Regions from separate parts of the Homo sapiens genome. Here region 1 is linked to region 2. The links are contacts of gene promoters, found by promoter capture Hi-C in blood cells and fetal thymus (Javierre and others, 2016). All regions are on one chromosome and are shown on one strand. Each heading gives the region's core, a stretch centred on a gene start or on the middle of the fragment in contact. The rest is flanking DNA. Distances are from core to core; before and after follow the strand shown.

What was found. The method cuts DNA at HindIII sites, captures the fragments that hold promoters and counts their contacts. A CHiCAGO score of 5 or more calls a contact.
Region 1: a fragment that was not itself captured here is called in contact with the fragment with the promoter of KRT4 in region 2 in 1 of 17 cell types (M2 macrophages); the score reaches 5.1 in M2 macrophages.

The regions. Positions count from the first base shown.
Region 1 is chr12:52,644,667-52,650,683 of GRCh38, reverse strand. KRT2 (keratin 2) reads left to right here. Exons shown (of 9, transcript NM_000423.3): 2 at 131-345; 3 at 710-770; 4 at 1,582-1,677; 5 at 2,347-2,511; 6 at 2,829-2,954; 7 at 3,724-3,944; 8 at 5,115-5,149; 9 at 5,250-6,017. The coding sequence ends at 5,665. Among named protein-coding and RNA genes, the nearest start is that of KRT2, 4.5 kb to the left of the region's middle. The HindIII fragment of the contact is 1,334 bases long and covers 2,090-3,423 here.
Region 2 is chr12:52,811,271-52,817,427 of GRCh38, reverse strand. It overlaps KRT4 (keratin 4), which reads left to right and starts at 3,312. Exons shown (of 9, transcript NM_002272.4): 1 at 3,312-3,831; 2 at 5,451-5,665. The coding sequence starts at 3,370. RefSeq lists an enhancer at 3,740-4,241 and a silencer at 4,407-4,607. The HindIII fragment of the contact is 5,472 bases long and covers 1-5,026 here.

The DNA of each region.
Region 1 (6,017 bases), core at 1,507-4,006, 170 kb after region 2:
ATGACTCGGCATCCAGCCTCAGACACTTCTCGAGGTCCTGAAGCAGCACCTGAGCTGCCCCTGGCCAGCGTGGCTTGCTTGGTGTGAAGGATGATCTAGAACTCATGTGCTCTCCTTCTGGTCATGGCAGGTGCGGTTCTTGGAGCAGCAGAACCAGGTGTTACAGACCAAATGGGAGCTGCTACAACAAATGAATGTTGGCACCCGCCCCATCAACCTGGAGCCCATCTTCCAGGGGTATATCGACAGCCTCAAGAGATATCTGGATGGGCTCACTGCAGAAAGAACATCACAGAATTCAGAGCTGAATAACATGCAGGATCTTGTGGAGGATTATAAGAAGAAGTAGGTGGCAGAGTGAAACGCTGAGTGGAGATAAACATTGCACTGAGCCATTTGATCACTCCCTGGAAAGCCATTCATCTCCCAGTTGCATTTGTGGTGGTAATGGGGAGAGGCATATGTATCTTTGTTGATTATTTGTGAGGAAGACAGTGAGACTTTAGAGATCATTTTTGTCTTTTGTATGTTTGAGAGTTAGTTTATAAAAATATATCTTTAGTTTGGAAATCTTAGTTTCAATTTAGATATTTAAAAAGTGTGTAATATTCCCAGAGAATGGGGCATTTGGGGTGAATCCAGTATAAAAGGAAAAGAAAAAAAATGAAGGGGAACTAATCTAACTGCTGTAACATCTGTGTCCCAATAGGTATGAGGATGAAATCAATAAGCGCACAGCTGCTGAGAATGATTTTGTGACGCTTAAAAAGGTGAGCGAGAGAATGTCTTGGCTGGGGGTGGGGATAGGAGTGCTTCACAGCCCCATTGTGTCTAAGCAGCCAGTTTGGAAATCAACTGTGAGTGCAAAAGCAGCAGCCAGAGAAAGGAGTGAGACCCATGGCACATTCTCTTGCAAACAAAATTGTCTCTGTAGGTCAAGCTTCTGGATACAGTTTTCAAAGCTGTTCTGCATTTTTGGTAGAGTGCTTCCCAGTAGTAACCCACTTAAAGCCTCTACTGAATCATGATAAATGCAAACACAAAAATCTCTTTGTATTCTCCTTCTAAAGAGCTGAGGAAGGAATGGGACTTCCCTTAGAATGCCTGCTTAAAGTTGCTGTTGGTTGTGCTGACAAAGGTTTGAGGTTGTAGGCCAAAAGCAAGGGTTCTCCTGCTGGGTCCTGCAGGGCCTTTGGTGTATATTCTGGGGAAATTTCGGAGAGGTGAGATGGACAGACGGGATGAGAGAGCTGAGGACTGTGGAAACCCACAAAGAACATCGTATCCTGTTGTAGAAACACACAGTGTCTCAAGCAGGAGAGAGGGGCTGGTTGGCAAAGCTTGGTCATCTCGAGGCTCTGATGGTCCTGAGGGCTGTGAGCCATGGACGTAGGCATGAAGTCCCTGGCAGAGGTGTATGGTAAACTGCACGACAAAAGAAGTCCCATGGGGACAGGGATCAGGTTGGGGAGCCTGGGATTTTAGAGAGGAGCCAGCAGGGACTGAGTAGAGGGGAGTGGCAGAGAGAGGAAGAGGCCTGTACAGGGAACCATACACCAGAGGCCTCAACCTTTCTTGCAGGACGTGGACAATGCCTACATGATAAAGGTGGAGTTGCAGTCCAAGGTGGACCTGCTGAACCAGGAAATTGAGTTTCTGAAAGTTCTCTATGATGCGGTAAGGAGGCTGCTCCGGGACAGTCCCTTACTTCCCACCCTTCTCACCAAATGAAAGTCCTTTCTGCTTGGTGAAAAAGTGGCAGAAGTGGGGTTTATGGACCAGCTGACTTCAATCTGCCATCATTCCAGGCCACTGGGGGGGCTTTCATAGCATAGGTCTTGTGGGTGAGGAATTTTCTCCTCCGATGTTATGGGAATAAGGTTCAGGAAACACCAGGACAGCTTCCCCTCCCTCCATTCCCCAGATGTCCATTTCCCCTGGGGAAGAGACAAGCCCTGTGCCCATTCCTGTGCCTACTGTACTTCAGAGGTCAAAATGCATTTGTCTCCTATCCCCCTCCCCAACCCAAGGGTGCACAGATGATTTCTGAAACAGGAAGTCCATTTAAGGTATTTGCCATGGACAAGCTTCTGTCTGGGGGCACTTACCATAACTGGCTTAAGTGCTGAATGTTAACTAGGAGGCTCAGAAATACAGGTGCCTCTCACTACAATTCTCAGGACAACCTTGGGAGAGGCCCAGGAGTAGACGGTTACATGATTTTCATCCCACCTAGTGTATGCTTAGTCTGAGGGTCTGCGTTTCCCTTATGCTGGGAGACAGAGGCCTCCTGTCTGCCTGTAGCTATGGCAGGATGTCATGACCAGACCTTCCTGTGTGTTGTAGGAGATATCCCAGATACATCAGAGTGTCACTGACACCAACGTCATCCTCTCCATGGACAACAGCCGCAACCTGGACTTGGATAGCATCATCGCCGAGGTCAAGGCCCAGTATGAGGAGATCGCCCAGAGGAGCAAGGAAGAAGCGGAGGCCCTGTACCACAGCAAGGCAAGTAGAGGGAATGTAGGAAGAGCCACAGCTCCCTGCCATGAGCTGGGTTGCACCCCCAGCTGGAAAGTGTACAGTAAGGTTATTGGTTTTTTGTTTAATGGTAGTTGGGCACCATTCCCAAGAAAGGATGTTGAGAATGGCACCAAGTCCTTTTGGGCATGTGAGACAGTCCCTACCTCTCATGAATGCAGCCATGACATTTAGCTGGGTTGACCCTCCCTGGACCAGTAACCAGCTCTCCTTCACTCCAGTCAGTCTGGAATGTGAGCCAGGCTGGAACTTCCTTGCAAACTGTCCTCTTCTCCCCATATCAGTATGAGGAGCTCCAGGTGACTGTCGGGAGACATGGAGACAGCCTGAAAGAGATCAAGATAGAGATCAGCGAGCTGAACCGCGTGATCCAGAGGCTGCAGGGGGAGATCGCACATGTGAAGAAGCAGGTGAGGCCCAGCCCTGTCCAGCGAGGGGCGGGAGGTTGTCTCTGGGTGTGCGTGAGAGTGTGGTTGTGTGTGAGTGTGCATGTGAGAGATGAGAGACACTGAGATATTGCACTCTAGCATGTATCGATCCCAAATTCCCCAGCTTAACATAATTTATGGCTTATTATAACAATTCTTAGAGTGCTCTAATAGACATTCCAAAGTAAGGATTATCGAAGGGAAAGAATTGTGCTCACTTGTTTATATGAGGAAAAGGGAGTCATAACAAATAGAGCAAACGTTAGTTTGATTGATTTGCTGCAGATTGCCGATGGAGCTTCCCGTTTGTGCTCAGCACAGGCCCTGAGCACCAGCCGACTGGTTTCATAGAGGGGCAGTGAGTATTGAGGGCAGCTGGCCTGGGGCTGGACGTTAGCTTTGGAATAGAAAAGGTAGAGGCAGAGAGTGGATTCCATCAGCAGCAGAAGCTTTGCCAAGCAGACCATTTCAAATGTTTTCATTTCCATCTGTAAAATGGGATCATGATTCAGGCCCTGTGATGTGAGGATCAAAGGGCACTATGGGGAAAGCCAAAGGGTGTCATCAACGGTGACATGGGAAGAAGATGTGCCAGAGACAGCGGCAAGTCTTAGCACAGTTGTTTGCGACTAAACTCCAGAGGGGACCTAACACTCCCAGGGCCAGTGGTTCTGGCTTCCTGCACTTCGAACACCTCTGCTCTCTGTCCGCCTCCGTCAGGCAGAATCCATTCTCTGTCCTTCTGTCATAGTGTAAGAATGTGCAAGATGCCATCGCAGATGCCGAGCAGCGTGGGGAGCATGCCCTCAAGGATGCCAGGAACAAGTTGAATGACCTGGAGGAGGCCCTGCAGCAGGCCAAGGAGGACTTGGCGCGGCTGCTGCGTGACTACCAGGAGCTGATGAACGTGAAGCTGGCCCTAGATGTGGAGATCGCCACCTACCGCAAACTGCTGGAGGGCGAGGAGTGCAGGTGAGGGCACTGGGAAGGGAGAAGGGGACCCTGGCCCTTCCTCTCATCTCTCCCAGAGCCAGGGCTGGAGGCAAAGACAGGGAAAGCAGAGAATGGGGCAGGCCCTCCTGACAACTGAGAACTGACATTCTCTGTGTTCCCCAAGCAGAAACTCAGGACATAAAGCATGATTGGAGAGTTACACATTTATCAACATGAAATGATGCATAAGGCACATTAAATTAAACTAAGCAGTAAGTTAAACATCCTGGTCTTTTCTGAAAGAGAAAACAAAATCATGGGAAAACAGGTTAGTCCTAGACAGTCTGAAACTTTGGTCTCTAGGTCCATAGGGTGAGTGGCTTCTGTGCCCTCCACCGGGTGACCCAGAATGGGGGAGATGATGTCTCGGAATGTGCTGACTGGTGGGGACGTGCTGACCGGAGCAGGTGCCAGCCCCAGTTCTTTGCAGGTTTCTGGAGTGACAAATGGAACCATTTGCTAACTTTCAAAGAGGCACCCTTTGCTTCCTCTGTAGTCTGAGACCTTTGTCCGTATTATCAGCATCTTGGGTGACTTAATCTGGCTGAAGCAATTGGAAGGGGAAAAGCTACCCCAGGCCATCAGCAAGCCAGCATGACAAACAGGGAGTGGCTTTCTTCAGGAGGTTGCTCTGTCCCTGTCTAGAGGCAATGCCTCCTATGCCCAGCTTGTAAGAGGAAGTGGGAAAGTTTTCAGTTGAAGCTGAAGAGGGTGGGAAGAAGAGAGGAATGGGGAGGCTCTACAGAGTCACAGTTCTTTCTGAACTGAATGTTCACAGGCAGCCTCATTGTATAATTTCTGATGTGGCATGGATTCTGAATAACAGACTCTCCAAGATGGATTTAAATACACAAATGGGTTGCAAAGTAGGAAGTGAATTTGCTTTTCAGTGACCTTGGATCAACCACGCAACTGTTCATTTTTTATCAGAGCAAAAATTGAGAGGGATTGACATGCAAGGTTGTGCATAAATGGAAGGGGGTCTGTCGTCATTGTGTGACCTGGCAGCATAGAAGAAAGTGGGGTGTGTAAGCCCTGGTGGCTGCTTAGAGAGGCTAAACTGCACATTTGCGGGTGGAAGTGGTAAAACAACATGCATACAGAACCTAAGTGTTCCACCACAACTTGTTTTTTCTCTCTCCCTTACAGGATGTCTGGAGACCTCAGCAGCAATGTGACTGTGTGTAAGTAATGGGGTGTGGTCCTGTTCCATGGGGTGTTGTGTCAGGTGGAGGCAGGGAGAGGCAGTCATAATCTCTGTGGTAACACCACCTCTCTCTGCAGCTGTGACAAGCAGCACCATTTCATCAAATGTGGCATCCAAGGCTGCCTTTGGAGGTTCTGGAGGTAGAGGGTCCAGTTCCGGAGGAGGATACAGCTCTGGAAGCAGCAGTTATGGCTCTGGAGGCCGACAGTCTGGCTCCAGAGGCGGTAGTGGAGGAGGAGGTTCTATCTCTGGAGGAGGATATGGCTCTGGCGGTGGTTCTGGAGGAAGATACGGATCTGGTGGTGGCTCTAAGGGAGGGTCCATCTCTGGAGGAGGATATGGCTCTGGAGGTGGAAAACACAGCTCTGGAGGTGGCTCTAGAGGAGGCTCCAGCTCTGGAGGAGGATATGGCTCTGGAGGTGGGGGTTCTAGCTCTGTAAAGGGTAGCTCAGGTGAAGCTTTTGGTTCCAGCGTGACCTTCTCTTTTAGATAAAGATGAGCCCCCACCACCACCGACTCTCCCAACCCAGACTCTCCCACTCCAGAATGTAGAAGCCTGTCTCTGTACCTCTAACTGGCAGCAAGTTAAATTTTTGTCATTTATCTCTGATGGCACTTTGAGGGAAAAGAATGTCCACATACAGTTTTTGAAAGATCTTCTCTCCAAACCAGTTAGTTAGAGCCAGTGACGCCTCTGTGTTCTGGGGCGGAATCTGTGCTGTCTAGGTTTGTGCTTCTAGCCATGCCCATTCCCGCCCCCACCATGCCTCTTTGCATTGCCCATTTTCCAGATGTGTATTCTGTTGAGGACCCAGGCCCATCCAGGGATTTCATCTCTAAGCCTG
Region 2 (6,157 bases), core at 2,063-4,562:
TTGGAGTGTTACAGCCATAGAGTAAAAGACCCAATAAGCACACTATGAGCCATCTCAGGGATTCACTTGTGCTCAGGCAAAGCCTACCCCGGCCTGTGATAGTCCCCATCAAATCCCAGGGGCTACCAGAGAAGAAAGCAGTGAACGGCAGGTGCAGAGGCTGAGGTGAGGCAGCCGGGGGGTGAGCTCCAGCCATCACTCAGGGTGAGATCCTGATGGCCCTGCCATGTCCTCTGGGGCAGGTAACCAGTCAATTGGACCTCAGCTTCCCAAGTGGGAGGCTCACATGTCTCCTCAGCTCCTGCAGCTGCAGCCCGCAAAGACCTGCAGTAGCTCCCACCCTCCTTCCAAGCCATGCCCACCTTAGGAGCAACAGTGGAAATCGATAGACCCTGGGATGCTAGTGCCCCCAGAGCCCCTTTGACCCGAACAGTCAGTTCCATCAGATTTATTTGGGTGCACATTCTGGATTGGTTGTGACACAATTTAGACAGAGTGGCTTTATACCAGGCAGAACAGTGTGAGTGAGAGGCTATAGAATATGGAGCCTTTGGGCCAGGTGCAGTGGCTTACGCCTGTAATCCCTGCACTTTGGGAGGCCGAGGCGGGCAGATCACGAGGTCAGGAGATGGAGACCACGGTGAAACCCCGTCTCTACTAAAAATACAAAAAAAAAAAAAAAAAAAATTAGCTGGGCGCGGTGGCGGGCGCCTGTAGTCCCAGCTACTTGGGAGGCTGAGGCAGGAGAATGGCGTGAACCCAGGAGGCGGAGCTTGCAGTGAGCCGAGATGGCGCCACTGCTCTCCAGCCTGGGCGACAGAGTGAGACTCCGTCTCAAAAAAACAAAAACAAAACCCAAAACAAAAACCAAAAAAAAAAAAAAAGAATATGGAACTTTTGGGACCAGACTGATGTAAGTTTAAATCCTGGCTCCACCACGTGCTGCTGTGTGACCCTGGGAGCTACTTTACTTCTCTGAGTTTCTGTAAGGAAGGCTAATGGTGCTGACTCCATAGAGCCTCTAAGTAGACTAGTTGATCAAATGTAGGTAAAGCATCCAGCACAGAGCTTGGCACGAAGTCGGCGCTTGGTGAATCTGGGCAGAAAGGATCAGTGAAAGTCCAACCCCTTCCTTCTAGGAGATGGTTCTGGCTCTAGAATGCTCACCTACTGCAGGTGGACTGACCCATGACGCGGGCATTCTCCTGTGATGGGGCCTGGGGCCTCCAGTCCTCATGGCCACAGCCCCTCCACCCCCTCTCCACTTACTTAGAGGCCATCTTGGCAGAGACAGACCCGAGGTAGGGGAGGGAGGGGTTGGGGGAATGGGGACAAGGGAGGAAGTGGCTGGAGAAGGAGCTGGCTGAACTCCCAGCCAGCCTGGCCTTCCCTGCAGCCCTGCGTCTGGGGTGGGATCTCCTGACCACTCTGTCCTCAGCACTGGCCCCTGCCCTCTCTCTGTGCATGGAGGCAGCCGTTCACTCTCTCCCTGGCCAGCTTTCATTCAGCTAGGGGCAGCTTGGGTCTGTGGGATTATCCAGGTGCTGGTGACTGCTCTTCCTCAGACCTGGGGTCATTTCATCTATGAGGAATTGAGGAAAGGAGGGAGAACAAACACACCAGATTTCTCCCTGTAAATGGCAATGGCAAAGCCTGGGAAAGAAGAGAATGAATGCCTGCTGACCTCCTATATGCCAGGCACCATGGGGACATTGTCTAATTCCTTGTGAGGCAGGTGTCCCATTTGGTAGATGAGAAGATGGATTGGATGGTGTATTAGGCCATTATTACGCTGCTGATAAAGACATACCTGAGTCTGAGCAATTTACAAAAGAAAGAGATTTATTGGACTTAACAGTTCCATGTGGCTGGGGAGGCCTCGCAATCATGGCAGAAAGCAAAAGGCACTTGTTACATGGTGGTGGCAAGAGAGAGAATGAAAGCCAAGCAAAATGGGTTTTTCCTTATTAAACATCAGATCTCGTGAGACTTATTCACTACCACAAGAACAGTATGGGGGAAACCGCCCCCATAATTCAATCATCTCCCACCGGGGCCCTCCCACAATGTGTGGGAAATATGGGAGTACAATTCAAGATGAGATTTGGGTGGGGACACAGAGCCAAACCATATTGGATGGGTTTAGAGTGCTTAGTTGGCCCACCCAAGGTTATACAGCTAGTTAGTGGCAACAGGAGGGATTTGAACACAGATCTGTTACTGTTCAGTTGGGAAGAATTTAAGTTATGGCTTAAAACTAGGATTTTGCATTTAAAAACATTGCTCTGAGAAGGGATCCATAGGTTTCATCATTCTGCCAAAGGGATCCCCAGCAGCAAAAAAGTTATGAACTCCTGCCCTGAATTCTGCACCATTACAGAAAACCAGAACACACCTAGCAAACAACTGGACAGCAAATGGAGCAGCAGAGTGCACACCACCAGACCCCGCTGGAGAACGCCCATCTAGAATTGTGCAAGCACAGATTGAAGGGAGGCCTGCGGGGCAGCATGGGTACCCAGGGCTGAGAAAGACAGTCACGGTTTTCTTTGGGGAGGTGTTTTGTCTTCCCCCATCTCCTTAGTACCTAGCTCCATGCCTGGCAGTTTCTCAGTAGCTGTTGGCCAAGTTGAAGTGAATCTGGATCTAGGTTGGAAGGCTAAGGCTGGAATACAGAATATTTCCCCTTTTTATAGGTACATGGAGCCAAGAACATGTGGAGGAATAAGAATGCTAAGAATGACAAATATACATGTGGCTTTTGACAGTTTACAGAGCACTCCATTAATCACTAGCTCACTCTATCCTGAGAAGTGGCAAGGCAAATATTTGTATTACTTCCAATTTACAGGGAAAGCAACTGGGCCTCAGAGGGTGACTTGCTCCGGTTTGCAGAGCTAGGAGGTGGCAGGCTGTGCGCTCAAACTCAGGCTGTCTAACTCCACATTCTGTGGGGTGAGAGGATGGGTGATGGGGTGTCTTTTCTGGAGGAGGGAGGTGCTGTGAGCCTAGCGAGATGGAGGTACAGTGGGTGTGGGCCTGGAGCGCTGGGCCCAGGCAGGGGCTTCTGATTAGGAAGCCCTGGGGCACCAGTTCAGGTTCTCCCAGAGAGTAGTGTGATGGGATCCAGTAACCTGTGCCCTCCAGATGACTTCTGTAGGTGTGTTTAGTGACATGCTCAACGGGTGCGGGAAGGATGGGCTTGTGCCAAGGGCCAAGCCCAGAGATGTTTCAGATTTTTCCCTTTATGCCCCTGCAACCAAGCCCTGCTGCTCCAGGACATATAAGAGACGAAGGCTGAGGGCTCCAGCACTCACCGGCCTGGGCCCTGTCACTTCTCTGATAGCTCCCAGCTCGCTCTCTGCAGCCATGATTGCCAGACAGCAGTGTGTCCGAGGCGGGCCCCGGGGCTTCAGCTGTGGCTCGGCCATTGTAGGCGGTGGCAAGAGAGGTGCCTTCAGCTCAGTCTCCATGTCTGGAGGTGCTGGCCGATGCTCTTCTGGGGGATTTGGCAGCAGAAGCCTCTACAACCTCAGGGGGAACAAAAGCATCTCCATGAGTGTGGCTGGGTCACGACAAGGTGCCTGCTTTGGGGGTGCTGGAGGCTTTGGCACTGGTGGCTTTGGTGGTGGATTTGGGGGCTCCTTCAGTGGTAAGGGTGGCCCTGGCTTCCCCGTCTGCCCCGCTGGGGGAATTCAGGAGGTCACCATCAACCAGAGCTTGCTCACCCCCCTCCACGTGGAGATTGACCCTGAGATCCAGAAAGTCCGGACGGAAGAGCGCGAACAGATCAAGCTCCTCAACAACAAGTTTGCCTCCTTCATCGACAAGGTGAGCTGTGTCCTCGGCTGGAGAGGGGCAGTTAGAAGAGAGGGGTCCTGAGTCCTGGGGTCTCAGACCTGAGCCTGCCACAGGTGCTGGGGAGACCACTGAACTTCCCTGGGCCCCAATTCTCCAGCTGTTGAAGGGGCATCATGACTTTGAGCCTTCCTTTTTGTCCCGTGGCTGGTGGGAAGGTGGGATGCTCAAGGCAGTTAAGTGTTTGGAATTCCCTAGACAGGCTGTGGGATACTGGACAAATCATTTGGCTTTTCTGGCTCTAGTCATCCCAGCTATAAAGGGGGTTCATTATTTCTCTGCTTTTTCTCAGATTTTGGTTTTGAATATAATGCAGTTAACCCCATTAATCACTTAACAGTGGCCACTTCTGTTCTTAGAACAGAAGACAACTAAGCTGATTTTGCAAATGAAAAAGGGACTGGCTCCAGTGGCAGATTCTAGGTCTCACCAAGGCCTTGGAAATTTACTTTTTTCATTCCTTTGACTGGACAACACTGCTCATGTCTGGGTCTGTTTGAAGAAAGGAGACAGGTCTCTTTTCTTTTTGTAGCCCAACTTCCTTTTTCATGCAACGTCTAGAAGTTCAAGTTCTTTAAGCTCAGTTATGGTCATGCATGATGGATGATAGTGAGCAGTGCAGCCCCAGAGAGCCGAGTCATCCAAAGATTGATGACTGGGTGGATGAGTGCCTCCCTTTGGTCCAGGTTGCCCTGGTTCACCAGGCATCAAAGTCTTGGGCAGCTTCGACATATGGGGCAAGAATGAACACTTTTGGAATAGAATAAGGTGCATATTTGTTCTTCTTGCTAGTTTGAATAAACCCATAGTAACTTAAAGAGGTTTTACTGTGACTATAGGACATGCAGATGTGATAGCAAAAACTCAGGGCTCTTTGATGCATCCTTGTCTCATCTCATCTCATTTTACCTTTTGGGTTCAAAATGTGATCGGTCTGCCTTACCTGCTTTCCTTTCAATTCTGAGGCTCATAACATGGAAATGTCATGCTAAGCTGCTGTCCTGGTTTGTCTGGCTAGATTTTTTCATAGAGAGAGGGAAAGTTCAGGAAAGTCCTTTGCAGAATGGAGTTTAGGTGAGACAATGCGTACAGGGCCCTTGTTTTAAATATCTATACTCAGTTGTTCACAGGTTCACAGGGACACGCCAGATCCATTGATAAGTAAGCTTATTTAAAAAGTCTGTAGTGACTTTGTCTTTCATTTGCCTTGGGTCAGGATCACTTTGAATGCAAGAGCCTCCAGATTGTGATGTCTCTTAATTTTATTTTGTTATTTCATAGAAGTTTAATGTTCTTTGGGGCTTTGGGTGCCTGCGGCTAGGAAGTTGTTCTTGTTGCACTGTTAGGCCCTGCTTCTCTGGCTGTGCTCTATTCTCCACAACCTATGTGACCCCTTGGTGCTATGGGCTCGAGAATGGGGCCATCATGTCAACCCGAGTGAATGGTGCCCTGGAGATGCAACATAGTGGCCCTACTTGGGTGGTTCTTGGGCCGTGTAGTTCCCTGGGATTGACTGGGTTGGTGTTGCCTTGGCTGGCCCTCCTGCCACACTTCAGGCCCTCATCACTTGGCTGGTGCCTTTATCAACACAGGTGCAGTTCTTAGAGCAACAGAATAAGGTCCTGGAGACCAAATGGAACCTGCTCCAGCAGCAGACGACCACCACCTCCAGCAAAAACCTTGAGCCCCTCTTTGAGACCTACCTCAGTGTCCTGAGGAAGCAGCTAGATACCTTGGGCAATGACAAAGGGCGCCTGCAGTCTGAGCTGAAGACCATGCAGGACAGCGTGGAGGACTTCAAGACTAAGTACATGGGGAGGAAGGAGGGGACGCCATCTGACACATGTGCCCAGCCACACCCAGGCTCCCGGGGCTCTCTCCAGTGGCTTAGAATCTCAGGCTCTGAAGGCGTCTAGGAAGGCCCTCTAGTCTGTTTTGCTACATCCACATAGTCACGTTTTCTCAGGGTGAGGTCTGGTAACCACAGATTTTTCCGAAAGGAAATTTAATGATAGATTCAGGGATTTGGGTCTGCCATATACGAACAAGATCAGAACCCAAATAGATGAAAAGCAGTATAGTATGATTAGAAGAATACAGACTGTAGAGACAGATGGAGGTGGTTTGCATACTGAGTCCTCACTTACTAGCTGTGTGACCTTGGGTAAATAGCTGAACCTCTCTGAGCTTCAGTTTTATTCATCTTTGAAATGGGGATAATATTCCTACTTTATGGGTTGTGAGAATTAAATGGAATTAAATGAAATAGAGAAAGCATGTGGCATATTTCAGGACACAG